Regions from separate parts of the Homo sapiens genome. Here region 1 is linked to region 2. Evidence: promoter capture Hi-C in 16 types of primary human blood cells and fetal thymus (Javierre and others, 2016). All regions are on one chromosome and are shown on one strand. Each heading gives the region's core, a stretch centred on a gene start or on the middle of the fragment in contact. The rest is flanking DNA. Distances are from core to core; before and after follow the strand shown. Region 1 overlaps GRIA4 (glutamate ionotropic receptor AMPA type subunit 4). Region 2 holds the start of DDI1 (DDI proteasomal shuttling factor 1).

Evidence for each region. The method cuts DNA at HindIII sites, captures the fragments that hold promoters and counts their contacts. A CHiCAGO score of 5 or more calls a contact.
Region 1: a fragment that was not itself captured here is called in contact with the fragment with the promoter of DDI1 in region 2 in 1 of 17 cell types (non-activated CD4 T cells); the score reaches 5.2 in non-activated CD4 T cells.

What each region holds. Positions count from the first base shown.
Region 1 is chr11:105,769,494-105,773,937 of GRCh38, forward strand. All of the region lies in intron 4 of GRIA4 (glutamate ionotropic receptor AMPA type subunit 4), which reads left to right. Among named protein-coding and RNA genes, the nearest start is that of GRIA4, 160 kb to the left of the region's middle. The HindIII fragment of the contact is 517 bases long and covers 2,920-3,436 here.
Region 2 is chr11:104,035,181-104,039,317 of GRCh38, forward strand. DDI1 (DDI proteasomal shuttling factor 1) reads left to right here and starts at 1,460. Exons shown (of 1, transcript NM_001001711.3): 1 at 1,460-4,016. The coding sequence starts at 1,643. The coding sequence ends at 2,833. The region is part of intron 1 of PDGFD (platelet derived growth factor D); the gene reads right to left. The HindIII fragment of the contact is 9,840 bases long and covers 1-4,137 here.

The DNA of each region.
Region 1 (4,444 bases), core at 1,928-4,427, 1.7 Mb after region 2:
AATGGAGGATACTTTGAGGGAGAATGGGGCTGACAAGTTTGTTTGGGACACTTGAGAACAGATAATGTCAGATAGTGAATATCCCACCTGAAAATTTGAATTCTGTGCTCTAGATGGGGGGCAGGGGGTACCAAGAGTTATTTTAAAGTACCCATAGTGACAGGACGAAAGTTCGTCTTTCAGAATTATAACACTAAAGCAGTATGGAGGATGAACCAGAGGTGGGAAGAGTCTGCAGGCAAGAAAAACTAACCAGGAAAGTCACAATGTGACACATGAACAAGTGAAAATGAGCATAGTAAAACCCACATATGTAAATGCTAAGTAGGTGTCAATTACATGAGTCATCAAAATAGCCTGGCTTTAGTCAAAGTTTATCATTTGGATTTGGAGCCAAATCTTATTTTAGAGATATTTTTCCCCTAATTTAACTTAAAAGTAACAGAAACAAGATATAGACTACTAGTTACTTTAACTCATGGATTTCTACACCTACTGTATATTTCCATATGTACTAAAGGTGCTAGTAACAAGATCAATGCTACATTTTCCTTATGTCATAACATATCCTTTATATTACTTTTTGGTGTGTTTAAGTGATACATACATAGAATATGGATGATTTAGTGCTCTAATTTGCTATTCAACTTTATAGTCCCCCTAACATCGTGATGCAAGGAGAGTTTCACCTGTGGTGACACCTTGTTTGTATCCTAACGTCCCCAGTTTGAAAACAGACTTTACTTGTGGGTACATTTTTATTTGGTTGTTTAACTCTGCAGAATTTTGCAATTTTACAAGGGAAGAAAATTCATTCTTAAAAGTCTCGTGTTTAATATAAGAAATGTGTTGGTCAATATCTTTTTCCATTTATGATGCATATTTTTGCCAAACTATATATTTTCTTTCTTAGTTTCTCAACATATGTTTGTGTAAGTTAAATAAGTTTGGATACTTGGTCAAACTTTCTCAGCCTTCCACTTCACTCACCCAAAATAAACGCAAAATTTATTTTAAGCATTTCAATATATGGTTTAAGAATATCCTCCCATTTAACATTAGTTTTAAATAAACCAAATCATCCAATTTCCTCCTATTTTCCAGTTGCCAAGTAGTTCTGGAGAAAAGCAAAAAACGGGATCACTTTGTTCCATTACACTGACTGAGACTCTCATTTCTTCTGAACAATTCTTCTACCTATCCCTAGTTAAAACCTACTTTTCCCCAAAGCCCATATTCCAAAGATTTTTCCAATTTTCACAAATATCAGCTGGACTTTCTCTACCCTTTTAATTCTCTATGGATTAGCCTATCTTTACTAAGACCATTTAACATAAGCCCTTCAGTGTTCTAAAAACATCAAAATGCTCTGAACATTCGTCCATCCATTCCCTCCTATGTTCTTCCTGCCATCAAGAAATAATTATTCCCTTCATCCAAGGCTGACTCTCCAAATGAGACCATATTTTCTTTCATAGTCGAAGATGTTTTTCTTTAATTATGTGTACTCCCTCCTTAACCTTAAGTTTCTCCTCCTCCTCTGTCTATACACATGACTACACATATCCAAAATTTCCCCAACCTATGAACAATCAAATACCCTCTATAACTTGTACTCTCTTAAGCCACTATGCTAGGTTTTTCATTGCCATATTCATTGAAAGCATACTCTACAAAGCTTTTTCTGCATCTTTACTCCTTAATCCTTTGCCATTCTAGTTCTATCCATGCCCACTCTACAGAATTTAACCTCTTCAAAAACTAACCTTCCTTTGTCCAAAAGCTATTTTGCACTATTTTTTGAAACATTATGCTCCTATGATTATGTTCAATATTTCATGTTTTCTGCCTTATATCCCTGACCGTAGACATAAGTATTCTCTATATTCAACCCTTATTACTCAACTCTGCTCTGTCAACATTCTCTTTGGGGACAATGCTATTTTTGCCCTTGCCCTAACTAAGATTTTGATATGAACCGTTCCCAAATCCCTGTCTCTATATGAGATCATGCTGGAGCTTTTGTCCTTTTTGCAAACAAGTTTCTCTAAGAAGGTATAAGGGACATTTTTTTGTAAACCAGATATTGATTTACACAGTGTATATATGTTCGCTTATTCTTAGAAACTATGCACTGAAGTAATTAGGAGTAAAAAGTCATGATTTATGCATTTTGCTTCAGAAAAGAAGTACAGTTGACCTTTGAACAATATGATTTTGAACTACACAGGTCCATTACATGTAAATTTTTTAAATAATCATATTGGAAAATTTTTTGATTTGTAACAATTTGAAAAAACTTGCAGATGAACCATGTAGCCTTATATTTAGGCATGTTGTGAATGCCTAAAATACATGTAAATACTAGTCTATTTTATCATTTACTACAATAAAATATATATAAATCTATTATAAAAATTAAAATGTATCAAAACTTACACACACACAGACTGTACATAGCTCCATTTGCAGTGGAGAGAAATGTAAATAAACTTAAAGATGCTGTATTAAATCATAACTGCATAAAATTGACTATAGTACATACTAATCCACTGTAATAATTTCATAGCCACCTCCTCTTGCTAATGCAGTGAGCTCAAGCGTTGTGAGTATTCACTTGAAGCGACATGTGATGCTAATCATCTCTACCTAAACAGCACAACTCTCCACTAAATTGCCTATTGCAGTAAAAAGAGATTATTCACGATTCTCCATCATGTTTAGTGAATACCATAAACCCTGAATAACGCCAACGTACCCGTGCCACTGGCAATGCTGGAAGTGCTCTCAAGAGGCATAGAAATGTCGTGACATTACAAGAAAAATTTGGATAGCTTGATATGTTCCATAGATTGAGGTCTGCAGCCACAGTTGCTCACCAATTCAGACAGACAATTCATCTTCTAAACAGACAATGTAAGCTTACAGTATCGAGAAACACAGTACAATGTGGTAAATGTATTTTCTGTTCTCTATGATTTTTCTGATAACATTTTTTCTCTTTATTGAAAGAATATAGGATATAATGCATATAACATATAAAATATGTGTTAATCAATTTTGGAGGGAGTTAAAAGTCATACTCAGATTTTTAACTGAGTTGGGGGTGGGTGCCCCAACCGTCACGTTGTTCAAAAGTCAACTGTATATATTATCCATAAAATGCACACACACATACACAAACATACACACACACACATATTTGCATATACTTATATATGTTTGTGTCCCTATTAACAATAGGTAAATTTGTGTAAAGAATATATACGTCTTTCTTGTATTATATTTATTTTTAAACTTTTCCATAAGTTAAAATTATTTCCAAATAAAAAATTATGAAAATGTGTGGGATGTAACTAAAGTACAGAAAGAAAAGAAAATTTCATAGCTTTGAAGACATTTATTGTAAAACAAGAAAACTAATACAAATAAGCTAAGCTTTAACTCAAGAAGCTAAAAAAAGAGAGCGAGGGAAACATCTCAAGTCTAAACACAGCAAAATGAATTCAACAATGCAGATGAGGAGAGAAATGAATATACATGTTTACAAAGCCACAGAGAATTTTAAGCTACCCATTCATTGCTAAATAGTGTCAATTTCCTCCTCCACCTTCCCCTACTCCTCCTTCTCATTCTTTTTTTAAAAAATTATTGACTTTATACATTAAATGTGCTTTTCTCCGTGTTTGTCTATTGAAATTTCACCTTCTTACAAGTACAAGGTACAGGTCCCTTCTTTGTCCTTAAGAGGGAGAAAGAAGAGACAAATCTAAAAGAAACATAGCAATGGTTCCAACCAAGGGGTTGAGCATCTATTTAAGAAAGGAACAAACAAAATAGCAGGTATATATTAATTTTCTATAAAACAAGCAACTAAATTGAAAAGAATTTAATGAACTGGCTTTATAATAACTGAATTCATAATTAATATTTAAATCTATAATGTTTATCCATGAACTAATATAATATCAAATCCACACATATAATTAAAAATTATAGAGTTTTAAAATATTACCCTTGGTTTATACAGGAGTATCATTAGAAGTAGCCCTCCAGCACGCTGGGCTCTACGCATCTCTGTTCTTACTGCCAGCAAATCTGATCTACAGAGTATAACATGTATTTCCCAAGCACAGACAAAGCAAAAGGAAAAGGGCTAGGCAGGAGGTAGGGACACCAGCTGCTGGGGAAACAAGTCTTCAGCAACCTGGCTTGTGAGCCAATCAAGGTTGCTAAGGTAGGTCCTGGGCCTAAACAGGGTACATTTCCACCTGGTTGGGGAGAATAAAATGACAGATACCAAAAATTAACAAGATAATCTATGGTCGATAACAAATTGATACAATAAACCATGAATTCTCTAAGAATTCAAAGAGGGCAAAAAAAAAAAAAGTAAGAGTATAATTAAAGTAATAAGTACTAATAAGTAATAAAAATATCATTA
Region 2 (4,137 bases), core at 210-2,709:
AAAGGTTCATCTCACTCATTCATTCATTCCCCTTCAAGGCAATGGCCCATCTACCCTATATCCCATTTTAGAGACCCTCTGTGTTATCCACACATTCCACTTTTTTACACTCCCCACCTCCAAGGGGTATGCACACTCTGTCCATTTTACTCAAGAAACATGTTTATTCTCTACTGCTTTGGCTTTGGGCCTCCTGACTTTCCACACTCTAGCAACAGCTCCCTCTTTGAACCACTGGAAAAGCCTCCTGACTGGCCCTCCTGCCACATTATGTCCTCCATGTGTTGCAAGAAGCCTCTTCCTTAAGTCAATTTAAAAAAAAAAATCACAAACACCTGCTTCAAATCTTTTCCCTTTCCTTTCCTTCCTTACTTCTTTTTCTTTTTTTTTTTTTTTTTTTTTGGAGGAGGAATTCTTGCTAATTGATAATATTTAATATTTAAACTCCGTAGATTCACATATGACTTCATCAATTGGCTCAACTAATTTTTTTCCAGCTTCATATCCTGGTATTCAAAGTCATGTACAATTTTTTTATTGCACAAAATGTCTCATCTTTCTCTAGAAATAACAGCCCTTGCCATAAATTCCTGCTTTTGTAACATGAAACTGCTTTCCTTTGGAGTGAGACCACTTTGCACCTGGAAGATGCTCATCCTTCAACATCCAGCTTGTCTCCTCCTTAGGAAAATATCCTCTGTTCTGTTGGTGATACTAAAGGCAGTACCCTGAACATGTCTTTGTAAAAGATTTTGCCTTTAGTATTGTGATTACCCATTCACCTGTCTATCCCTTTCCAGAAATGTGAGCTCCTCAAGGGCAGGCTCCAAATCTGACTTTCCTACTATGCACATAGAATGGTACTTGCCATGTAAGAAACAAATCCTTACTGTTTGGGGAAAAAACAAAAGTACAAAGAATACAACTCTAAAATGAACAAAACAAATGATAATATGCTGTTTAGAAAGTGTTGAAAAACTAGGCATGGTGGCTCACACCTGTAATTCCAGCACTTTGGGAGGCCGAAGTGTGGGGGATTGCTTGAGCCCAGGAGTTGGAGGCCAGCCCGGACAACACAGTGAGACCCCAAATCTATTAAAAAAAAATACAACAATTAGCCGGGCATGGTAGACTGTGCCTGTAGTTCCAGCTTTTCAGGAGGCTGAGAGAGGAGGACTGCTTGAGCCTACGAGGTCGAGGCTACAGTGAGCTGTGATTATGCCACTGTACTCCAGCCTGGGTGACAGGATAAGATCCTGTCTCAAAAAAAAATGTGTTGAAATCATTTCTTTCATATCATGTGTTAAATAGGCTTTGAAGGGCTGGCCTTGAAACCTGACAGCTTTGAGCCATCGTGTATCCATGGGAGTAGGCATTCTAGGTTCCAAACAGCACACTTAGAAATGGACTTTGGAACACAACGTGCTACCTCAAGGCTCCACCTGGCCACACAGCAGGCACTGAGGCTGGGAGACAGCCCCCAGACAGATGAGTGTCCGCGCCTCTCTGAGAGGTGAATGAGCCCGGACGGTCCCTACCTACCAAGTCCTGAGGAGCAGCGGCACCAACGACGCAGGCCCGCCCCAGCCCGCCAGTGAGCCGCCCATGCCCTCTGCTAGCCCGGCCCGCCCGGGCCCCCGCCATGCTGATCACCGTGTACTGCGTGCGGAGGGACCTCTCCGAGGTCACCTTCTCTCTCCAGGTCAGCCCCGACTTTGAGCTCCGAAACTTCAAGGTCCTCTGCGAAGCGGAGTCCAGAGTCCCCGTCGAAGAGATCCAGATCATCCACATGGAGCGACTCCTCATCGAGGACCACTGTTCCCTGGGCTCCTACGGCCTCAAAGATGGCGATATCGTGGTTTTACTGCAGAAGGACAATGTGGGACCTCGGGCTCCAGGGCGTGCCCCGAACCAGCCTCGTGTAGACTTCAGTGGCATTGCGGTGCCTGGGACGTCCAGCTCCCGTCCACAGCACCCTGGACAGCAGCAGCAGCGCACACCCGCTGCCCAGCGGTCACAGGGCTTGGCGTCAGGAGAGAAGGTGGCCGGCCTGCAAGGTCTGGGCAGCCCCGCCCTGATCCGCAGCATGCTGCTCTCCAACCCCCACGATCTGTCCCTGCTCAAGGAACGCAACCCTCCCTTGGCGGAAGCCCTGCTCAGCGGAAGCCTTGAGACCTTTTCTCAGGTGCTGATGGAGCAGCAAAGGGAAAAGGCCTTGAGAGAGCAAGAGAGGCTTCGTCTCTACACAGCCGACCCACTGGATCGGGAAGCTCAGGCCAAAATAGAAGAGGAAATCCGGCAGCAAAACATTGAAGAAAACATGAATATAGCGATAGAAGAGGCCCCCGAGAGTTTTGGACAAGTGACGATGCTCTACATTAACTGCAAAGTGAATGGGCATCCTTTGAAGGCTTTTGTTGACTCGGGCGCCCAGATGACCATTATGAGCCAGGCTTGTGCCGAGCGATGTAACATCATGAGGCTGGTGGACCGACGGTGGGCTGGGGTTGCTAAAGGAGTGGGCACACAGAGAATTATTGGCCGTGTTCATCTAGCTCAGATTCAAATTGAAGGTGATTTCTTACAGTGCTCTTTCTCCATACTTGAGGATCAACCCATGGATATGCTTCTAGGCCTAGATATGCTCCGGAGACATCAATGTTCCATCGATTTGAAGAAAAATGTGCTGGTCATCGGCACCACTGGCACGCAGACTTATTTTCTTCCTGAGGGAGAGTTGCCCTTATGCTCTAGGATGGTAAGTGGGCAAGATGAGTCTTCGGACAAGGAAATTACACATTCAGTCATGGATTCAGGACGAAAAGAGCATTAAAGCACGTTATAAATATGTTACCACCTTGAGGGAGCCTCAGGTCCCCGGCAATTATAAGTTAAGAGCTTACTGGCAATGTAATCATTAAAAAACATCAGTAACAACTAAACCTGGCCTTGGGACTACGTTCTCAGATGGGTAACTAACGTCAATCCTGATTCCTTGGTCTTGGTCCCTCTTCCATTTCCCTTGTCCAGAGATCACTGAAAGGCATCCTGGGAAGGCTCTGGAGGCTCCAGCTGATTTCCAGATAATCCATGAAAAAGAAAACCAGCTTCTTCCTTTAGAGACACTATCCTATCAGATTACAGGTGGCTTATCCAAATCATTGCTATTTTGCAGAATTCCCTGGAAAAATGCTATGGCTGCAGACCTTACAAGGCATCCACATAAAACTATTTCACATCAGCACTAATAATTCTTTCTACTGAGAGAAATATGCCCATTTTCACAGGTTTTGTTTTCTTTGGGAAGGGTATTAGAAATGGTAGGTCAGTTACACTATGATGTTAACTAATACTTATACATGTCTGTTTGGGGCAGCATAAAGACCAATTTCCTCATATTTACACCTTCCCTTCCCCTGGATCCCCTGCAGTCACCCTGCAATCCACAGCTAAAGACTATTTTTGCCATATTTGAGAAAGTGGATTTATCTCCAAGGATGCTACATTAATTTTCTATTTCTCCTGCATTCAAAGAAACTCTGGCTATAAAACAAAGGCAATAAATTAGATTTTTTAAAAAAGAAATTATGGTACTTCTTGGGAGTCAAGTTGTACAGTGGTGGGAATGAGAGGTGGGGACAGGCAGTGGTCCAGGTTCTCTAATAGTCATTGCAACTAGATCATCTCTCTCTCTTTTTCAAAGTAAAAATCTGCTTTATACATTAAGCTGCTGCTACATCAGTATTGTTTGAACAAAGGTTTTCACTGTTAAAATAACATTTGAAAACTTTTGAATGAGAAGATCTCTAAGGCCTCATTCAGAATTATCCATTCTGACAATGTTAGTGTTTATTACAACTGACAGTGGGTAATGGAAGATCCTAGACTTAATTACAACCCATGGCTAAAGCACCTGAGAGAAAAGTTTCAGCTTCCTGAGGCCATCAGATGCAGGGGAAATGTTTCAGGACAATAATTTATCAAAACTAGTATTAAAACAGCGGATTCAAAATCAAGATGTGTATGTTTTGATTACACTTAATTACTTAGACAAATTAGTTCACCTACTTTACAACTGAGATTCCTCACCTAATAATTTTTTTTTTCCTGGGAGGGGTCACTTTTCAAGCACTAAAA